Linked DNA regions of Homo sapiens: all the other regions are linked to region 3. Evidence: promoter capture Hi-C in 16 types of primary human blood cells and fetal thymus (Javierre and others, 2016). All regions are on one chromosome and are shown on one strand. Each heading gives the region's core, a stretch centred on a gene start or on the middle of the fragment in contact. The rest is flanking DNA. Distances are from core to core; before and after follow the strand shown.

Evidence for each region. The method cuts DNA at HindIII sites, captures the fragments that hold promoters and counts their contacts. A CHiCAGO score of 5 or more calls a contact.
Region 1: a contact is called between a fragment that was not itself captured here and the fragment with the promoter of RTTN in region 3, in 10 of 17 cell types (total CD8 T cells, monocytes, total B cells and 7 more). The highest score is 18.5, in total CD8 T cells.
Region 2: a fragment that was not itself captured here is called in contact with the fragment with the promoter of RTTN in region 3 in 1 of 17 cell types (M0 macrophages); the score reaches 8.8 in M0 macrophages.
Region 4: a fragment that was not itself captured here is called in contact with the fragment with the promoter of RTTN in region 3 in 6 of 17 cell types (monocytes, M0 macrophages, M1 macrophages and 3 more); the score reaches 19.1 in monocytes.
Region 5: a fragment that was not itself captured here is called in contact with the fragment with the promoter of RTTN in region 3 in 10 of 17 cell types (total CD4 T cells, naive B cells, non-activated CD4 T cells and 7 more); the score reaches 14.2 in total CD4 T cells.
Region 6: a contact is called between a fragment that was not itself captured here and the fragment with the promoter of RTTN in region 3, in 3 of 17 cell types (monocytes, M0 macrophages and M2 macrophages). The highest score is 6.2, in monocytes.
Region 7: a contact is called between a fragment that was not itself captured here and the fragment with the promoter of RTTN in region 3, in 1 of 17 cell types (M1 macrophages). The highest score is 6.5, in M1 macrophages.

What each region holds. Positions count from the first base shown.
Region 1 is chr18:68,730,454-68,733,173 of GRCh38, reverse strand. It overlaps a transcript of CCDC102B not described here. Among named protein-coding and RNA genes, the nearest start is that of TMX3, 17 kb to the right of the region's middle. The HindIII fragment of the contact is 4,512 bases long and covers 1-2,720 here.
Region 2 is chr18:68,822,370-68,825,069 of GRCh38, reverse strand. All of the region lies in intron 1 of CCDC102B (coiled-coil domain containing 102B), which reads right to left. Among named protein-coding and RNA genes, the nearest start is that of CCDC102B, 26 kb to the right of the region's middle. The HindIII fragment of the contact is 3,269 bases long and covers 1-2,700 here.
Region 3 is chr18:70,204,247-70,207,086 of GRCh38, reverse strand. RTTN (rotatin) reads left to right here and starts at 1,400. Exons shown (of 49, transcript NM_173630.4): 1 at 1,400-1,459; 2 at 1,772-1,959; 3 at 2,824-2,840. The coding sequence starts at 1,429. It overlaps LOC105372180 (a long non-coding RNA gene), which reads right to left and starts at 1,298. Exons shown (of 3, transcript XR_935599.3): 1 at 513-1,298; 2 at 1-58. RefSeq lists enhancers at 1,001-1,240, 703-1,332, 1,251-1,360, 1,571-1,700. The HindIII fragment of the contact is 5,232 bases long and covers 1-2,840 here.
Region 4 is chr18:68,840,199-68,842,898 of GRCh38, reverse strand. All of the region lies in intron 3 of CCDC102B (coiled-coil domain containing 102B), which reads right to left. Among named protein-coding and RNA genes, the nearest start is that of CCDC102B, 43 kb to the right of the region's middle. The HindIII fragment of the contact is 1,168 bases long and covers 764-1,931 here.
Region 5 is chr18:68,678,346-68,681,240 of GRCh38, reverse strand. TMX3 (thioredoxin related transmembrane protein 3) reads left to right here. Exons shown (of 16, transcript NM_019022.5): 14 at 131-260; 15 at 1,710-1,778. Among named protein-coding and RNA genes, the nearest start is that of TMX3, 35 kb to the left of the region's middle. The HindIII fragment of the contact is 9,223 bases long and covers 1-2,895 here.
Region 6 is chr18:68,867,175-68,869,923 of GRCh38, reverse strand. All of the region lies in intron 4 of CCDC102B (coiled-coil domain containing 102B), which reads right to left. It also overlaps the pseudogene SDHCP1. Among named protein-coding and RNA genes, the nearest start is that of CCDC102B, 70 kb to the right of the region's middle. The HindIII fragment of the contact is 6,831 bases long and covers 1-2,749 here.
Region 7 is chr18:68,799,530-68,802,356 of GRCh38, reverse strand. The region is part of intron 1 of CCDC102B (coiled-coil domain containing 102B); the gene reads right to left. Among named protein-coding and RNA genes, the nearest start is that of CCDC102B, 2.9 kb to the right of the region's middle. The HindIII fragment of the contact is 5,766 bases long and covers 1-2,827 here.

The DNA of each region.
Region 1 (2,720 bases), core at 102-2,601, 1.5 Mb after region 3:
CCCACCTCATTAAATCCCCTTCACTGCTTGGGGCTGATGTGGTTGGCTTTGGCTCCATTTCTGAGCTGTTTTAGTTCAGAAAGACTTGCGAATTTACATAAAGATCATTAACTGAGTCTACTTTTTCTCTGAGTCGCTCTAGCCTTAGCATAACCTTCCCCACCAACTTTTCTATCTTTCTTTTTCATATAGTTCTCCTTATACATTGGATGTCTTTATTTTGTCCCTAGGCTAAATCAGTCTATGGAAGTCCGCAGCCCAGGAATCTGGAAGGGAGCTCCACACTTGTGCGATGGATGTTTAGCCATGATGGTCCCTGGTCTGTAAAACTTGTAACTGGCATAGCAAGGATGACTCAAAATCATAGTTTTTTAATACATAGATCTGGGAACTATGGTATCCTAAAAATTTTAAGAGAAAACTGGAAAACCTTAACTCTAAATAGATGAATTCATGTTGTCTGCAGGCAGGTGAGGGTTACAAAAGAAAGATCACTATGAGACATTTCTGTAGAAAGCCTTCAAGTAGGCCGGGCGCTGTGGGTCATGCCTGTAATCCCAGTACTTTGGGAGGCTGAGGCAGGCAGATCGCCTGAGGTCAGGAGTTCAAGACCAGCCTGGCCAACATGGTGAAACCCCGTCTCTACTAAAAATAAAAAAAAATTAGCTGAGCATGATGGTGGGTGCCTGTAATCCCAGCTACTCGGGAGGCTGAGGCAGAGAATTGCTTGAACTTGGGAGGCGGAGGTTGCAATGAGCTGAGATCACGCCACTGCACTCCAGCCTGGGTGACAGAGCAACACTCCATCCCAAAAAAGAGAGAGAGAAAAAAAAAGAAGGCCTTCAAGAAATGCCAGATACACATTTCAAGGAATAAGACTTCAAGCTATGGTTATTATTAACCAAACAGTTTATGGTATCCACCATAGAAATACTAGAAATAATTTAAAATACACAGGGCGATAGAAGAAAAGCCCTGTGCTTCCATAAAAACTGGCCCACAGGAAAGAGATTGAAGATTCCCCCCTGAAGCAGTGTATTTTACTGAAATTAACTTCTCCATTTTCTGAACTTTAATGTTTGAGTAACTCAAAATATATCAACATGAATAAAGTTCCTCAGAGTAGAGTACTAAAGCCAAAGGACTGAGAAAGGACTTTTATGTGAGAAAAATAGTCAGTATTTAGCAGATGCTATAACTTAAATCTCAATAACTGTAAGCCATTCTCCTTTGATATGTGTTCAGTTTTATAAAAATAAATAAAGATTTATTTCCTCCAAAAAGAGCTTTGCTTGCACTAATTCGTACAATTTTCTGTACTTTTACTGAAGTAGAAATGGTGTTCAGAGATTTCAAAATCTCAAGACTATTGTCTGTCTGAAGAGTTTTGCTCCAAATGAATTTGACAACTGATATATAACTGAATGAGCATTATTGTATAGGAGATCATATAACATATATTATATTATATACACACATAGACAAAATTGTTTATATCATATATGTATACATACATATACAAAATTGTTTATATTATATTATATATGTATACATACATATATAAAATTGTTTATCCCTCTGGCCACTAAAATGACCTTGAGGCAATGGAACCTCAGATGGGACCAACCTAATATGCAAATGTAGAGTCCAGATTATAGTTCCTCAAAAATCAATTTTCCATGAAAAGAAGCCAGGGTATTTTGGAAGGATCACGGATTCCAAGTCGGGGGAAGGAAAGGATAAGGGAGTGTGCAAGTTTTCATATAAGCCAAAGTTTCATTCAAGGGTTAATGGAATCAGATCAAAAGGACACAGGAACTAGATTATAGGGGTTTGTGATCATCTCAGCATCGAAAATAGAAAAATACTTATGGTTAACTCAAATACATTAAATCTATGTGGTGGCTCACCTCTGTAATCCCAGCACTTTGGGAGGCCGAGGCGGGCAGATCATGAGGTCAGGAGTTCAAGACCAGCCTGGCCAACATGGTGAAACCCTGTCTCTACTAAAAATACAAAAATTAGCCGGGGTGGTGGCGCATGTCTGTAGTCCTAGCTACTTGGGAAGCTGAGACAGAAGAATCGCTTGATCCCGGGAGGCAGAAGTTGGAGCGAGCCAAGATCGCGCCATTGCACTCCAGCCTGGCAACAGAGTGAAACTCCGTCTCAAGAAAAATAAATAAATAAAATTTAAAAAATAAACATCTTAAATCCATAATGACCAGCCCAAATAAATATTAATTTAAATGTGCCAAAGAAGATCAAGATATCAGAATATTTCTGCTGAAATCTTATTACTCAGTCCTTTTGATACTGTTGATACCTTTCTTATATTGATACAGGATGCGGAATACAGTTCAGTATTAAATACATCATGTAGAAGACATTTTCTGACTCAAGGGATTGACTTCTTAAGTGTGACATTCAGTCAGATGAAGATATATGAGACATCCATAACCAATCTACTATTACTTTTTAAATCAGTAGGATTTGCCTACTTTAAGTATATGAACGAGTGTGAGATTACATTAATGTTTAACATTTTTAAAATTCAGGGAAAAGATGATAACAGATCATAAGTGTTCTAGTCAATTGCTTATCTTGAGTAAGCTGCATCTATCTATCAGCAGACAGAAGTATTACATGAGTGGGTCACACTGTTGAAATTATGAAAAAATGGCATAATAACTACAAATAAGGTCCAAAATATTTCTTCGGAG
Region 2 (2,700 bases), core at 172-2,671, 1.4 Mb after region 3:
TGAAACTTGTGGACAGCAAGAAAGAGAGAAAGATAAAAGAGAAAGAAAAAGAGACAGAGAATTTTCCTGAGTATTTCACATATATTAACCTATTTCCTTCTTACCAGAAACATAGAGGTACATATATATTTATCTCTCTATGCCTTTCCAGTTTTTATTTATGGAGTGCATGTGTGACTGTGTGATGACAGTGTGTATATGAAAGATAGACAAAGAAATTTTTCAGATCAGCAAAGATCTATTTTAATCATTGTTATTATTACACATTTTTTTAAAATTATAATTTCACAGAGACTTTGGCTTAACAGAAAACATTTCCAAAGACTTATAATATCATGTCAGTCTGGCTATTCTGTACTATTCAAATAACAACTTGTGCACATTTCAATATTTTTATTTTTCTGTCTATATTTTATCCAATGAAATGTATTTTAGGAATGTAATTGAAAATCACAGTTTTTAGCTGAAACCATTCCCCTTGAGAACTGGAACAAGACGAGGATGCCCACTCTCACCACTCCTGTTCAACATAGTACTCGAAATCCTGGCCAGAGCAATCAGGCAAGAGAAAGAAATAAAAGTCATCCAAACTGAAAAAGAAGTCAAACTATCTCTCTTCGCTAACAATATGATTCTATACTTAGAAAACCCTAAAGACTTTGCCAAAAGGCTCGGAATAGAAAACTCAGAAATACAACCACACACCTACAACCATCCGATCTGTGAAAAAGCCAACAAAAACAAGCAATGGGAAAAGGCCTCCTCGTGCAATACATGTTACTGGGATAACTGGCTAGCCATATGCAGAGAATGAAACTGGACCCTTGCTTTTTACTATACATAAACACTAACTCAAGATGGATTAAAGGTTTAAATGTAAGACCTCAAACTATAAAATTCCGAAAAGAAAACCTAGGAAATACCCTTCTTGACATCAGCCTTGGCAAATAATTTTCGGCTGAGTCTCCCAAAGCAATTGCAAAAGAAAAACCCTAAAAATGACAAGTGGGACCTAATTAAATTAAAGAGCTTTTGCACAGCAAAAGAACCTATCAACAGAGTAAATAGCCGGCAAAATGGGAAAAAATTATTCACAAACTACGCATCCAGCAAAGGTCTGATATCTAGAATGCTTAAGGAACTTAAATCAACAAGCAGAAAACAAATGACCCCATTAAAAAGTGGGCGAAGGACATGAACATACATTTCACAAAGAAGACACACAATAAGTCAACAAACATGTGAAAAGATGCTCATTATCACTAACCATCAGGGAAATACAAATCGAAACCACAATGAGATACCATCTCACACAAGTTAGAATGGCCATTATTAAAAAGTCCAAAAACGACAGATGCTGGTGAGGCTGCAGAGTTAAATGAATGCTTATACACTATTGCTGGGGGTGTAAATTAGTTCAGCCACCATGGAAAGCAATTCGGAGATTTGTTAAAGAACTTAAAACAGGGCTACCATTCAACACAGCAATCAATCCCATTACTGGGTATATACCCAAAGGAAAATAGATCATGAAGCCAAAAAGACACGTGCACTCATAGGCTCATCACTGCTTTTCACAATAGCAAAGACATGGAATCAACCTAGGTATCCATCAGTGGTGGATTGGATAAAGAAATGTGGTACATAAGTTACCTGATGGAAAGTCTTGACGGCAAGTTGTCCAGGTTCTTGGAATTCGGAATTCTAAGACGCACAAACAAAACAACAAAAGAACAAAGCAATGAAAGCACAGATTTACTGAAGCAAACATACACTCTACAGACAGGGAGCAGACTCGAGCAAGCGGCTCAAGAGCCCCGATTGCAATGCTCTTTGAAGTTTTTACTAAGCTAAAAGAATTTGGTAACACCTATATGTACCCTTTAGAGGCCTCCAATTGGTTACAACCTATGCGAATGAAGCATTGGCCCATGACTCATCAGAGGCTGAAGTGGAGGCTTGGCCCACAACCAATCAGAGGCTGAAATGGAGCCTGGTCCTGCAACCAATCAAAGGCTGAAATGAAGGCTTGGCCCCAGACCAATCAGAGGTACTTCCCATTTGTGCTACAGGGGAGTGTGGGGGCGGGAGGGGTTTGTAGAGGCAGGTGACTCTGGTTTCTTGTCACTTAGGCATAGAGAGGTGAGGTTTTCTTTTTGGTTCAATTCCAAGAAGTCAGCCTCAGGTTGGCCTTAGGCTCCAGACCCTATTCTCCTGCCTCACATATATATCATGAAATACTACACAGCCATAGAAAGAATGAAATATTGTCCTTTGCAACAACATGGATGGAGCCGGAGGCCATAATCCTAAGCTAATGAATGCAAGAACAGAAAACCAAATACCGCATGTTCTCACTTTAAAGTGGGAGCTAAACATTGAGTATGCATGGACATAAAAATGGAAACAATAGACATTGTGGAATACTGGGAGGAGGGGAGTTGAAAAACTACCTATTAGGTACTATACTCTCCTACCTGGGTGCAACATACCCATGTAACAAACCTGCACAGGTACCTTATGTATCTAAAAATAGGCGTTGTAAAAAACAAAAATAATAATAGTATTAAATAATCACAGTTTTTAAATGCCCAATTTCAAATTAAAACACCAAATTGACATGTTAAACATTTATTTGTTTCTACAAAATTTCAGGTGTTTTTTTTTTCTTTTTTTGAAATGGAGTCTCGCTATGTTGCC
Region 3 (2,840 bases), core at 151-2,650:
ATCCAACTCAAATATCATCACTCTCCTATTGACACACATGAGGAGGCAGCAAGGCACTCTAAATAGAACAAAGAAACATCAGGTCAGCTCCTCAATCTGTCACTTACTAGTTAATGTGACTTTGTGTGGGGGTACTTTTGTGATTCTAAGTTTCCTCTTTGGCAAAATAGGAATGGGAATACAGTAGGCCTTTGCTGTCCACTGGTTGCACACAGAGAATTCAACACACGGGATGGAAAATATTCGGGAAAAAACCCCACAGTTGAAAATAACAATACAACAATTAAAAAATAATATGAATAAAAGTACAGTGTAACAACTATTTACATAGCATTTACAGTGTATTAGGTATTGTAAGCAATCTAGAGATGATTTAAAGCATATAGGAGGATGTGTGTAGGTTATATGCAAATACTACACCATTTTATAAAAGAGACTTAAGCATGGGTGGATTTGGGTATCTGCGGGGGTCCTGGAACCAATTACCTAGGGATACCGAGGGCCCACTTTACCTGCCTTGACATCCCTTTCCCAGGGAACGTGAAATGATCAGACCGAGAAAATGCAAATCATTTTCCAAATGTAATTTTGTTGTTGTTCTTACCGCTGCTTATAATTAAAAAAAAAATAATTTGCTCAGCTCGATCACTGTGCACGGTGCAAAAAATCAACTTTGGTACCATTCAGCAAATCATACCCCCACGTCCCGCCTTTATTTTCCTTTTTTGCAGCCCGGTTTCTCTCTTCTGCTCACTCATACCCGCCCACCCCGCTTTTGTAGCTTGCTTGTTCATATCTGAACTTGGGTATCCAAAGACACTGCTTGACTTTGCAGGTACATTTCACAGTTAAAGAGGGTTCGTCATTTAGTAGTCGGGGATGGGGAGAACTGTCACAAAGCAAAAGTCTACATTCTAAATCGTGAAGTTCTGGGAGCTGAGAATCAGATTGGCAGGGCCAAGAACGAATCCGTCGACGAGCCGGGAGGCGGGGCTCCTGCTGGGGCCTCTGCAGCCCGCGCTGGGTTCCCGAATTCCCGCGCTGTAAGCCGGAACCCCAGGCCAGCGGGCGCCGCGGCGGGCCCGGAGATCGGTGCAGGACGCACGGCCTAGCCAGAACTACAACTCCCGACGTGCGCGGCGGCCAACGCTGGTTCTATCCCTGCTTGTTGCTTTTTTTTTTCCCTCCGCTTCTTGCGACGGAGACTGCTGTCCAGGAAGTGCGCAGTAGTGATTCTAGAGAGGCTGGAAGCTCTCCTGGCGACGCTGGGGCCGCGAAGGGCTCACGTAATGACTCCTACTCCTGGTGAGCGCAGGCGTTGCGGAACTCACCGTCCCACAGGACGTGTTTCCGGGGGTACATTAATTGTGGCTGGACGCAGTGGCGCGGCAGTTTAATTCTCCGGCGGCTGCAGATTGACGGGACGAGATGGTCCTGGCAGGGCTCATCAGGAAACTCGGTAACTGTCAGCTTGCCCCTCGCCCAAGGCACCCCCCGCGCTCTGGCCACTTGCTGAGAATGGTCGTGTCACGTTTCCGCGGCCGGCCGCTCCGCGACCGCTCCCTCTTTCACCCCCGCTTTGTCAGGATAGCCCCCGGGGACCCATCTCGGACTTTGTGTAAACTTCGCGGTTCGCGTCCCGAAGGCACCAGTGGCCTGCTTCTGAAAAAAACTGGTTTATTCCGTCTTCACGCCGCTCCTGCCCACAGCATAAATAACGTAGTCTCTTTGCAGTCGGGAAATAAAATAGTTTTGTGCCGTTCGTTGACAGGTCATCAGCTGGCCGAGATCAGGGAGCGCGCTCTCAAGAGTATTCTCTGCAAGATTGAGCACAACTTAATCTGCTACGCTGATCTCATTCAGGAGAGGCAACTTTTTCTTCATTTGCTGGAATGGTTCAATTTCCCGTCCGTTCCGATGAAGGAAGAGGTTCTGAACCTGTTAAGCAGATTGGTTAAGGTAGGGTCATTTTGAAATAAAGAAAATAATCAGACGAGTGACTTGTTTCTTAGTCATTTAATTGTAGCGTTTATTGAAAGTTAAATAATTGGGGTTAAAAGTTTTTTTAATCAACCAGAGATGTTTAATTTTAATTAATCTGGGTATATGGTTCATCTTTTATTTGTGATACTGAATCCCACATGGTCTCTGCTGTGCTCAGAAGTAACACAGAACTTCTTTTGAGTTTTGGTATGTTCTGTGTTTTTGAGTTATCTTTGGAGGTTAATATTTGTATTCTGTTTTTGTTTTCTGACATTTACATCTTAAAAACTAGATATGTCAGTATGAAAGGGAGCACTTTAAAAATAATGTTACATAACCGTGATTCATAAATACCAATGTTAAGTTGCTTGCCCATATGCTTTTAGATTGGTATTCTTATGCCTACCTCAAGAGTAGTTAGTTATCGGGGTCAGATATCAAAGTGTAAGTTTAACCTTTCAAAACTAAATCACTGTACAATGGTAGAGGAATCTTAAACTACTTTGACATCCTGTTGACCGGTTGGGGCTGGGACCATAAGGTGAGTGTCAGTGGAAAAAAGTAACCCATTAAAAAAATAAGAGTAGGGATTGATAATGTGCATTTCTAGCGTTCAGTGTGTTGGCTCATCTTTCATAAATGTTATCAAGTGTTGGATGTATGTCTCTATAGGTGTATGTGCTCCTCATGGAAGTGCCTTACTTCGGGGCAGAGCCATGAAGGATTTGTTTTTCAGAAAAGGAACATCTGATATACCAAAAATAATTTTATGTTTTGATTGCTGTAAGTTATAGAGATTTTGATACAGTTATTCTCAAGATCATCCTCTTCTTATTTTAGTATCCCCCAGCAGTCCA
Region 4 (2,700 bases), core at 98-2,597, 1.4 Mb after region 3:
CTGGTAATATGTGTCTGGCAAGCAAACGTATTCAAATTAGCAAATTTGAGCGGAAATTGACATTATAGCTCAAAATATTTCTGGGGAATACATGCAGCCAGGAACACTGATGAGAAAGCCATCAAAATCTTCCTGTAAGCACACTATTTCGGCCACCATTAAGGTAGAGACATCACAGCGGGACCTCAAGATCACCAATACGGGACAGTGAGTGGTGTCACTAAGCACCAGAGGCCACCGCTGCCTCTGGAAACAAGTTGTCTTTATTGCTGCTGCTTCTCGCTTAGGTATGGATTCTAGATGCTGTCTATTGCCTTGCGGTATTGGCTTGGCTTAAAAGTCTAGGTGGCCACCTCTGATGCACTATTCCTAAGTCAAGTGTCTGTACCCTCATTGCAAAGGAAACCCTGGTAGAGACTTACTGGCATTTTTATAATCTATGCACAGGTGTAGACTCTGTTTCATTTGGCAGTGAATTGCCAAAACACAAAATAGACACTGGAGAGTCAAAAAATGGTAAAGGTTTATTGAATATTCCATGAGTGACAGTTAATAAAGTAACAAAATAAGCTTGATTTTCAAATATTTACAAATATTACATTAAATAGTATTAACCAGATTTGCATGTCAATGTATTCATTGAGGAATATATATATATATACTTTATATATATAATTTCTTAAATATGTAAAGTAGAAATCTGTGTCTTTCATACATATATAAAAAATAATATCCTTTGTAGCATTTTTAATTTGCTGAAGCTTCTAACCTGGATTTTAAATCTCATTAAGAAAAAAATTGAACATTTAATGAAGCATGCTACTTTTCTTACATAGAAAATAAATTAAGAAGACAAAATGGGCTGGGCGCAGTGGCTCACGCCTGTAATCCTAGCACTTTGGGAAGCCAAGGCGGTTAGATCACTTGAGGCCAGGAGTTTGAGACCAGCCTGGGCAATATGGCAAAACCCCGTCTCTACTAAAAATAAAAAAATAAAAAATTAGCCAGGCGTGGTGGCACAGCCTGTAATTCCAGCTACTTGGGAGGCTGAGGTGGGAGGATGGCTTGAGCCCAGGAGGCTGAGATTGCAGTGAGCTTACATTGCACCACTGCACTTCAGCCTGGGCAACAGAGCGAGACTGTCTCAAAAAGTAAAGAAAAGAAAAAAAAGATAAAATGATAAAATGGAAAGGGAGGACTGAAGCTCAGCTTAAAGGACACAGAACAAACATTTTACAAGTGATAAAGGAGGTCTCTGCAGTGAAATTTGAAAACTGATTCTGAAGTTTGGGACAGTTCAAATTATTTTATCTCAGTCTCTGTTACTTGAGATTTGGTATTGCCAAACCTCAGCTTCCCAAATGTTTAGGTACACATAGGCCTATAAGAGGATCAGCTTTCCTGGCCTTACTCCAAATTTTCTACCTGGGAAGTCTTTATGAAAGTCAACAGAAATATATAAATTCTCAGTATATGAGAAACTTTTATACACTGGATAATTATTCATAAAACTGAACAGTACTCAGAGTGCAAAGAAAACTATAAAGTTTCATCTATTTGATGAGGAGGTTCTAGTCAAGGACAATGGAAAAAAATGAGTCCCTGAGTTTTCTGAGTTGATTTCTGTGCACTAGTCAAGAAGAGAATTTTCCCACTAGATGGGAATGCAGAAAAAAATACATTCACATCTCAGTCGAAGCCACCCACTCACTGATATTCCAGGAAGAAGAATTTAAAAGATTAGATGGATTTATAAGTAATAGCATATCCTATATTCTTGGAAAATGTTCTCTTGTGATAGAAAAAAAGACTGATTGCCTCATGCGGATTGCATGCAAATGTTGATTCATGGACACAGGAACCATGACTCATCACGTCCGTGGGATTGTTTCTTAAAAGAGGAGAGTAGGAAGACAAAGCCATGGAAAGCTTCCTTTTTTCTCTTATTCTTTGGCCTGTCTATGGATTATAGACTGAAGTCACTGAGAACTGCAGAATGTACTTACTCTGAGAATTGTTCATTTATTCCAAGAAAGTAAAAAGTATATGTTGTGTATATGTATATGGATAAGCGTGTTAAGACAGAACATGCATATCTTTAAAACTGACACCTTAGAATAGAAGTTTACATCTAGAAAAACACAGCTCTGCATTGCTCCTATTAGACTGCACTGGGGAAGTAATATTGTATGTGGGCTGGAGAGAAGTCTATAATTACCAAAAAGTTAAATGCTTCAAGAAGTAAAACCACGGAGATTAGAATGTGACTGAAATGTATAGGGCTAGATAAAATTGTCACTATGTGTACGAGCCTAAAAATTAAATTCATTTTTATTCTGTTTTCTACTAATGTTGGTTGCCTCTATTAGGAATTTACACTTGGTAGAGTAATAAATATTTATTCTGTACATAGATACTTGTATGATCACAATCTACTAATCTAGTGAAATACAGATGAAGAATCTGAAAAAGGGAATTGGTGGCACTAGTAAATTTCAGAGGGACTAATGAGAAACTTCTGGCAGAAAGTAAGTGGTAAAGAACTTACTGTATTTGTGAATGGCTAGCATGCATATTTATCCCTATTTCAGTCCATTCAAGCCAGGAAAATTAAAACTGTTATATAATATATACTTATATAATACATTGTGTGTATATATGCATACATATCCTTCTTGCTTTTCTGGTTCTGCCTATTAA
Region 5 (2,895 bases), core at 204-2,703, 1.5 Mb after region 3:
TTCTACCATAAAATATGCACAAATGTGTTAAATAGCTTCTATAATTATGGCTACTGAGATATAAATGAATATCAGAATACTTGCTATTGCTGTGTTTAATGTATATTTTGATTTGTTTTTATATTTTCAGTGAATTGACAGTCCCAACTGTAGTTGTACTGAATACTTCAAACCAGCAATATTTCTTGCTAGATAGACAGATTAAGAATGTTGAAGACATGGTCCAGTTTATTAATAACATTTTGGATGGCACAGTAGAAGTAAGTTGTTCACTTCTGTTTCAAAGAGATGATGGACAGGGGGTAGAGGAGAAACTAGTTCATTTCTTTACTTGTGATTCTGAAAAGAATAGTTGGCCATCACCCGGAGTAGAGGGCTGGACCTCCATACATTGCTTCTGTCCAATTATAGGCAGAGTAGAGGTACATTCTCCCAGATACAGAAGGTTCTTCTGTGGCAGAGGTTGCTAAAGATGGAAGTGTCCTTTTATGGGTTATTTGGAGGGTATTTTTGGTTGTCATGGTGATGGGGAGGGGCTGTTGGCTAAGGTTGAGGCTTAGGGATGCTAGGAAGTCTGCACTGTGTGGGGTAATCTTAATAGTGAACTTGCCTGTCTCTTAGTATGTTTCTAGGTCCAAAAGTACAATTGGATTAAGTCGTTAGGATTGGTTTTCTAAGAAAATCTGCAAATAAGATGACAATTTCTCAAGAAATGAGGAAATTTATTGAGAGTAAAAGCCCCCGTGGAGAGTTCTAGACTTAATCCTATAAAATATTTCTCAGAAATAAGTGAATAGTCTTAATTTTCTATTTTTTTCCTATAAATTTTAACTGCAGTGTTTTTCAAACTGTGAATTGCAACCTATATTAGAAAGTCATGAAACCACCGCAAGTCACAATCAGGTTGTGACCAGCATGCATCTTAATTCAATAGACTAGGATAAAATTTAAAAGAAAGCGCCTTCATTGCTTTTGTGAAATGTAATTACTAGTTTTTGAGAGTTGTTTCAGTTTTACACAAACTTTATTTAAAATTTGCTTACAGAGTAACAAACATAACTACTTTCGGTCAAGGTGAAGAAGTTTGAAAAACAGTCAAATAGTTAAGAATATTTTTGAAAATAATTTGTTGAAATGAAACTCTCACCTATATAAATAATCAGCCTTCTATTTTTAAGTTAGTGGAATGCAACTCAGACTATTTAACAACAGATTTTATTGTCTCATAGAGCTTGGAAATTTAAAAAATGAGCCAGATTGCAGGTATGGCCGAATATAGGATTTGAGTGATTTTCATCAGGAATTTTTCACTCTCTTCCCTTCAGCACTTTCATCCTCAGGGAAGCTCTCCCTGCACAGTAGCAAAGGTATCCTGCAGCAGCTCTGGTTTTGCGGTCCCAGCTAAACTCAAAAGCTGGTTAGGCTGTCCTCAGAGGTGGGTCAGCTTCAGCCAAGCTGTGTGGGTTATGAATAGAGGAGGAGGAATTGTTTAGAGTAGAATCAGGGTGAATTAACACAAGCAGGCAGGAGGAATGCTGGACATGACACAGACAAAAAACAACACAGTAAATGTTTACCACATGGCCTTTTCAGGTGATTATGTAATATTTTGGAGTCAACCATTTGGCCTGCAATTGTAAGGTTATGTAACACCAAGTAAATGAAGTAATGGTGCTTAAATAATTTATTTTTCTTTTCCTTTTTTGAAGGCCCAAGGAGGTGATAGCATTTTGCAGAGATTGAAAAGAATAGTATTTGATGCCAAATCTACTATTGTGGTAAGTTGTGACAGTTTATGTCATTGATAATGAAGAAGATATAGGTTCTTTATGTCTAGCTGTGTTAAAAATCTGAATTTGAAAAGATTAGGTCAAAATATGTCTTTTTAATTTGCAGGATATGACTAGTCAGTATTTAAGAAAATATATTCATTAGGTGGAAATTGTTTCTAATTGTTTATATGATTGATGAGTTAAAACTAAAATTCAGAATCAATTAACTTGATAGTATAATTTAAAAGATTTTATTTCTGCAACCTGCCATGTAAAGTTTTTACTTAGTAATTTCTATGATTTGTTGAAAGTGCAGATAATATGAAATTTTTAGTTCCATTACGTGCTGTCTTCTGTAAATTGGTCATTTTTGTTAAAGAAAATGATGTGTGCTGGGAAGTCACTTTTTATTTTGCAGGAGTCAAAATAAAATTTTAGATCTTACAATTTTAAACATCCCTGTTAATTCTGTACTTTTCCCTAGTTGGTAAATAATTAAGATCATTTACAGATGTTTTTCCTTCTTCCCTTTTTCTCTCCTTCCTTTTTTTTTTCTTTTATTCTTTTTATAGAACACTTTAAATGTGGAATTAAAATGTGATGGATCAAATCCTTTCTAACAGTGTTTACTTTCATTTGTTTGTCCCAGTGTTTATTCACAGTTGTTATATGTAAGTAGAATATCAACAGTGGTAGACGAATTGACATGTCTGCCCCTAATTACCCGTCTCTCTTGTTTTTATAATTATACTTTCTAAATATATTTCCTTGACTTTCTTCACTGTCACCTCTCACCTGATTATTTCTGCTATTCTAATTTCCTCTTCCTTTCACTCTATCAAACTAATGCTCACTCTGTCAAACTAATTAGATCTGTTGTATTTCCCCTGGATTTCTTTGAAGCATCCTTTCCTTGACATTCTCCTTTCCGTGCTGCTGTGAGTATCACTACTCCCCTGCTCCTGCCCCATCTCTTCAGTGTTTTTCAGCATCCCTTTCCTCCCTTTCCCCTTTGCAGTCCCTGGGTCTGAACCTTCTCGCTTGACACTCTTACGAAATTGTTCTCCCTCTCCCAGCTTTAACTGTCAATCAACTTGACAGCAGAGGAATTCTTAAATTTGTT
Region 6 (2,749 bases), core at 235-2,734, 1.3 Mb after region 3:
ACTGGACCCTTTCCTTACACCTTACACAAGAATTAGCTCAAGATGGATTAAAGACTTAAACATAAAACCTAAAACCATAAAAAAAAATAGAAGAAAACCTGGGCAATACCATTCAGGACATAGGCATGGGAAAAGACTTCATGAATAAAACCCCAAAAGCAATTGCAATGAAAACCAAAATTGACAAATGGGATCTAATTAAACTAAAGAGCTTCTGAACAGCAAAAGAAACTATCATCAGAGTGAACAGGCAACCTACAGAATGAGAGAAAATTTTTGCAATCTATCCATCTGACAAACTTCTAATATCCAGAATCTATAACGAACTTAAACAGATTTACAAAAAGGATAATCTTTTATCCAGTCTTGGAGCTTCCACTCAAGTTCTTTGTTTCCTTTTACCATCAAGTGCCTTGAAAGAGCTGTTGCACTTACCCTTCTCACTCGCTTCTGCTACCAGCATTCCTCAGACTTTCCACCACACAATATTCAGTTCTGCCCTTACTTGACTCCTTGGCAGAATTATACACAGTTGACAATGCCCTTGTTCAAAGACTCTCTTCCTTGGGCTTATGCAAAGAATGGTTTTCCTGCTTCCCTCCTGCTTGGATTTCTGTGCAGTTTTCCCTTTTCTCTGTCTTGCTTGGTGTCAATCCTCAATGCCCCAACCCAGAGTCATCCCATCTACTGTCATGGCTTAAGCCATCATCTCTCTGCTCATTGTTCAACTTTCCTTTCTACATTCATAAATCCAAAATCCTACCAAACACTTCCAAATCAACCTCAACATATTCAGAACCAAATTCACTGTCTTTTTCCCTTACATTTTTCTTCTCGTTTCTGTGTTCTCTTGGTGAATGGCCACCTGGCTGATAAGGTCAGAAATCTTTAACTTCTCCTTCTCTGTCACCTCCCCTGTGTCTTCAGGCATTTGCAACATCCGTTTAATCATCAATCATTGTCACTTCCTTCACCTGAATATTTCTCAGCTATCCACATACCTCCTCCATCATCAAGCTCAGGACACGTGGAATATTTCTACCTAGATTACTATAACAGGCTCATAACAGTTTCCTCATCATGCTCACCCCCCAAATCTCTTCTTCACACTGAGTTTGAGTCATTTTTTGAAATTGTGATCATATTGACCTTGGTCAATAAATTTTATTAGCTCTCCCCATTGCCTTCATGTTGATACACACATTTTTAATGTGGTTCTTGGGATAAGTATTGAATATCAATTAGCATAAGGGTATATGAGCAAGTATTTTACAGTTAGTCAGGTTTGGTAGCAATATATTCTTATGAAAGGTGAGGAACGTAAGAAGGAAATGTGTCCAAAGAGTAGACTCAAATGCAGTGGGCCCAGAAATATGTGACAGCAAGGTTAAGATTCCAAATAATATGTATTATTTATCAATGCACAGAGAAGTCTTCAAATGGGCAGATAAGCCACAGAGAAGCATTTTACGCCTTGGATCATTGCTTCAAAAAATTTAGCCAAAATCCCTTAAAGTAGATTTTACTTAATTCCCTCCCTTAACCTTAGAGAATGGTAGAAAATACAGTGAATTATGTTTAGCTTTAACAAACAAAAAATGTATTGTATTCTTCAAGTCAAAATAAGGATGTCAAATGACTTATCTCAGTGGTCTTTTGTTCTCTTGCTGATGTATATTTTTAATTTTTAAAGTTTTTGTTAAAATTGTTGATTTATTTAAACTCAAAAATAAAATTTTTAGTGAATTTTAAATATTTACTTTTTATAAAATGAGTATTTTAACTCAGTTTTAGAAAAAAATGGTATATGGACTTGGAAGCATGAAATTAAGAAGTTTTTTTTTCTGGAAATGCAATAAGAGGAAATATCATTGAGAAATAATATGCTCAATGATAATTGTCTGGATTTTCCTCTTGTGTCAGAAGCTATATATTTTCTCCCCAAAACAGCAGCTCCAACTAACTAGCCCTTTTTTTTTGTTTTGTTTTGAGACGGAGTCTTACTCTTTCGCCCCAGGATGGAGTGCAGTGGCATGACCTCGGCTCACTGCAAGCTCCGCCTCCCGGGTTCATGTCATTCTCCTGCCTCAGCCTGTCGAGTAGCTGGGACTACAGGCGCCCGCCACCACTCCTGACTAATTTTTTGTATTTTTAGTAGAGACGGGGTTTCACCGTGTTAGCCAGGATGGTGTCGATCTCCTGACCTTGTGATCCGCCCGCCTCGGCCTCCCAAAGTGCTGGGATTACAGGCGTGAGCCACTGCGCCCGGCCAGCTAGCCCTCTTTATCTCCCTCTAGCTGGGATAGATTAATTCCCTTCCACACCTCCTCTCTCTTCTTTCAATAATGCTGTGTAGGTGTTAAAGGCATGGGTTCTGGCCAATGAACAGAATTGTCCTTTAGGCCAGCAACCCACAGGCAGTGGCACCAAAAGTCTCACCCCCAGCCCCCAGGATGCAGGCCACAGAGCTGGCAGTTTCCACTGTCTCAGGGAGAAGGAGCCAAAAGCTGACCCACAGCACAAATCAGAGCCCAATATGGAGAGAGAATAAGTGCTTCTATTCCCAGAGTAGGCAAGCTGTGGGCAGGAAAAGGGAAGATTTTGCAGCCACTCCATATTTAGAAACAAGGGGAAGGCCGGGCGCGGTGGCTCACGCCTGTAATCCCAGCACTTCGGGAGGCCGAGACGGGCGGATCACGAGGTCAGGCAATCGAGACCATCTGGGCCCTTTTCCACTACTATGATCTAC
Region 7 (2,827 bases), core at 317-2,816, 1.4 Mb after region 3:
ATAAATTCTATAACTTAAGTTTCATTATTACAAAAAGAATGAAGAAGCCTGGGCAGTATCAAAAATAGGATGGCAGGGACTCTACGTAGTTGCTTTGACCCAACTCATTCCTACCATTGACAATACCTGTAAAGTGATTTCCAAACAAAGATAGAACAAAGCTCACCTGAACCCTCAGACAATCCCTGAGATTATTCTAGCTCCAAATTAGGAACAGGTTATAACCAGAACCTTCTAGAATTATATGAAACACCAATGGATTATGGCACTTCCACATCTTTCTCTTTTTTCCTGTGCTACCAAATGTTATAATCCCACTGAGCACCTTATAATTTTCATGTTTTATTGTGAAATACATTTTCTTCTCATCCAGAGAAGAAACGCTTGTTCAAAACCCTTCATGTCAAAAGAAGATAGAAAATTCATGAATATAGGCTGACTAATAAGACTATTTGATCTTTTGCAGAGGTCATAAATGTAATCTTTCACCTAATGCCTTCACAATCCTAAATTCACTAAGGGAGGAAAGGAAAGATTGTATGAAAGACTCTCAAAACTATTTCCAAATGAAAATGAGTCTAAAGTTGCTACAGGTTTTTCTTCATGCAACTATTGCCTCTTTACCTGTGTTATATTTCCAAACGTTTACTGCAGCTTAGAAACATATGCTCCCGAGTCAGTGACTAAAAATCTCACTTTTATTTTTGGAAACTTTAATTCTACAAATTTGAAACAGACACTATGATAAGATATATTTATAAATTCTTCAGTGAGCATATGTTTTTTTTCTCAATATTAAGGACACCTTTTTCTTTAGCTACTAAAAAAATCCTTCTATCAAAATTTTAACATCAAATATTTTAATATATTTATGACACACAACAGCAATTCTTTTAGGAAATATCATTAAATATAAATCAACTTGGATAATATTTAAGTATATAATAATGTTAACAGTCCTTTGCAAAGCTATGACTACAATTAAATGGCCTTGAGCACAACCTCCAATACAATATCTAGTTTTCCATTTTACAATCAAGGTCTCAAGCTCACAATCTCCATTGAGCATCTACAATTAGTCAGGGCACTGAGGATGGAGCACTAGTTATACAAAATGTCTTCTATAGAATATATTCTTAGAATGCAACCTAAACCTGTACAAAAATAAAATCTCAAGGTCAGTGACCAAATCTTTGCATTTCAACTATCCTCATCTGTTTTCGTGTACGGCAAAAAGATACTCCTTCAGTAAAGCCTACTTAATGATAGTATGATTCTAAACTAGTAGGCAGTATGTTCATAAAATGATAGCATAGTTACCATCATGTATACATTGAACAAAAAAACCTCGTTGTTATGAAATAAGCTATAATTTTTATTTCATTGAAAAAAAAGAAGAAGAAAATGAATGTTATCCCAGATACTAGTTCTACTTTGAGAAGAAGTAATGTCTTTAAGGTTTGGATATATGAAGGAAAACATGTTAATAAATAAGTTCTATTCTTTTTTACTGTGAATGTACTGTATTTCACACTATCTATTACAATGTGAATTTTATTTATGCTTTTCACCTATTGAAATGAAACTTATACAATGCCTTTATTTGATAATAACTTGGTCATTCCATAGTTTTAAGAGTATTTGGTCGCTGAGTGTTCGTTGATACCATGTATCAAAAAGAAACAGAGGAAAGTCAGTACATCCCCAGTGTTATTCCTGGCCACCTCACACATCTCATTTGTGAATAGGTAATATTCAGTGCAAATCAGTGATGACATTTTCTTTGAGAATGCAAAAGATACCTTCTCTAAGTAGATTTAAGAAAATGTAAGAGAGAGAAAAGCATAAGTGTTGAATCTGAGGGCCGCTAATTTAAATGTAAAAATTACCCCTTATTTGCAGCGTCAGTCTCTTCTCTCAATTCCCAAAGGAAAAGTGTGGCCCAACTGATAGAACAGTAATTCGTCTGGATTTATAGAATATCGGAATGGATCTTTGGGCTGTTGTCTCACGACCTCCTCCCTGCACCCTAAAATCCCAGTGTCCACTTCAAACCATTCTGCTCGACTTCTGCCAGATTCACATTCCTAGAATACCAGCACAACATCGTGGAAATAGCTCTGGAGCCAGAAAGACATTATTTGAAATTCTGGTTCCCTCACTTTCTTTATCTGTGGCTTTAAGCAAATCATTGAACGTTTCTGAACAGCAGGTTCCTTCAAGTGCAAAATGAAAATAATGTGTAAAATAATGTTCATTTTCTTGCAAAGCTATCAAAATTGTGGATATGTATGTAAATCACCTTGCAAGCAGAAAATGCTATTATGTGTTGGCAAAATGATGATGATGATGATTATGGTAAAGATGATGAAAAGAGGCACAGATACTCCACCTCTTTTCAGAAACTTGCAATTGTCCCCTTTGTATGATATGTAAAGGCCACATTTTTCTGTGTGCAATGTTAAGATGCTCTATCAATTTTTCCTGTTCTATGTATTGAGTACAACGTCTGATACTCACAAAGGTATATTTTTTCTGCTCCAATCAGATAAATTACTCACCATTCTTTTATGCTCTATGCTAATTTGTGTTCAAAACCCTTTTTGCCAATTACTTCTTCAAAGTAGAGTATTCCTCTTGCTTTCAGCACCTATCCAAGTTCCACTAGTTTTTCAAGACTAAGTTCAAGAAGTTGAACTTTTCTTTAAAGCCTCTGGCATCTCTTTAGGACTCACATACCTGCTAAAAAGGGAATTTCTGAATATTTTGGCATTATGGCAGAATTCAATTGGTCTTGTAATATCAGCATAAGAGATATGACGACCTG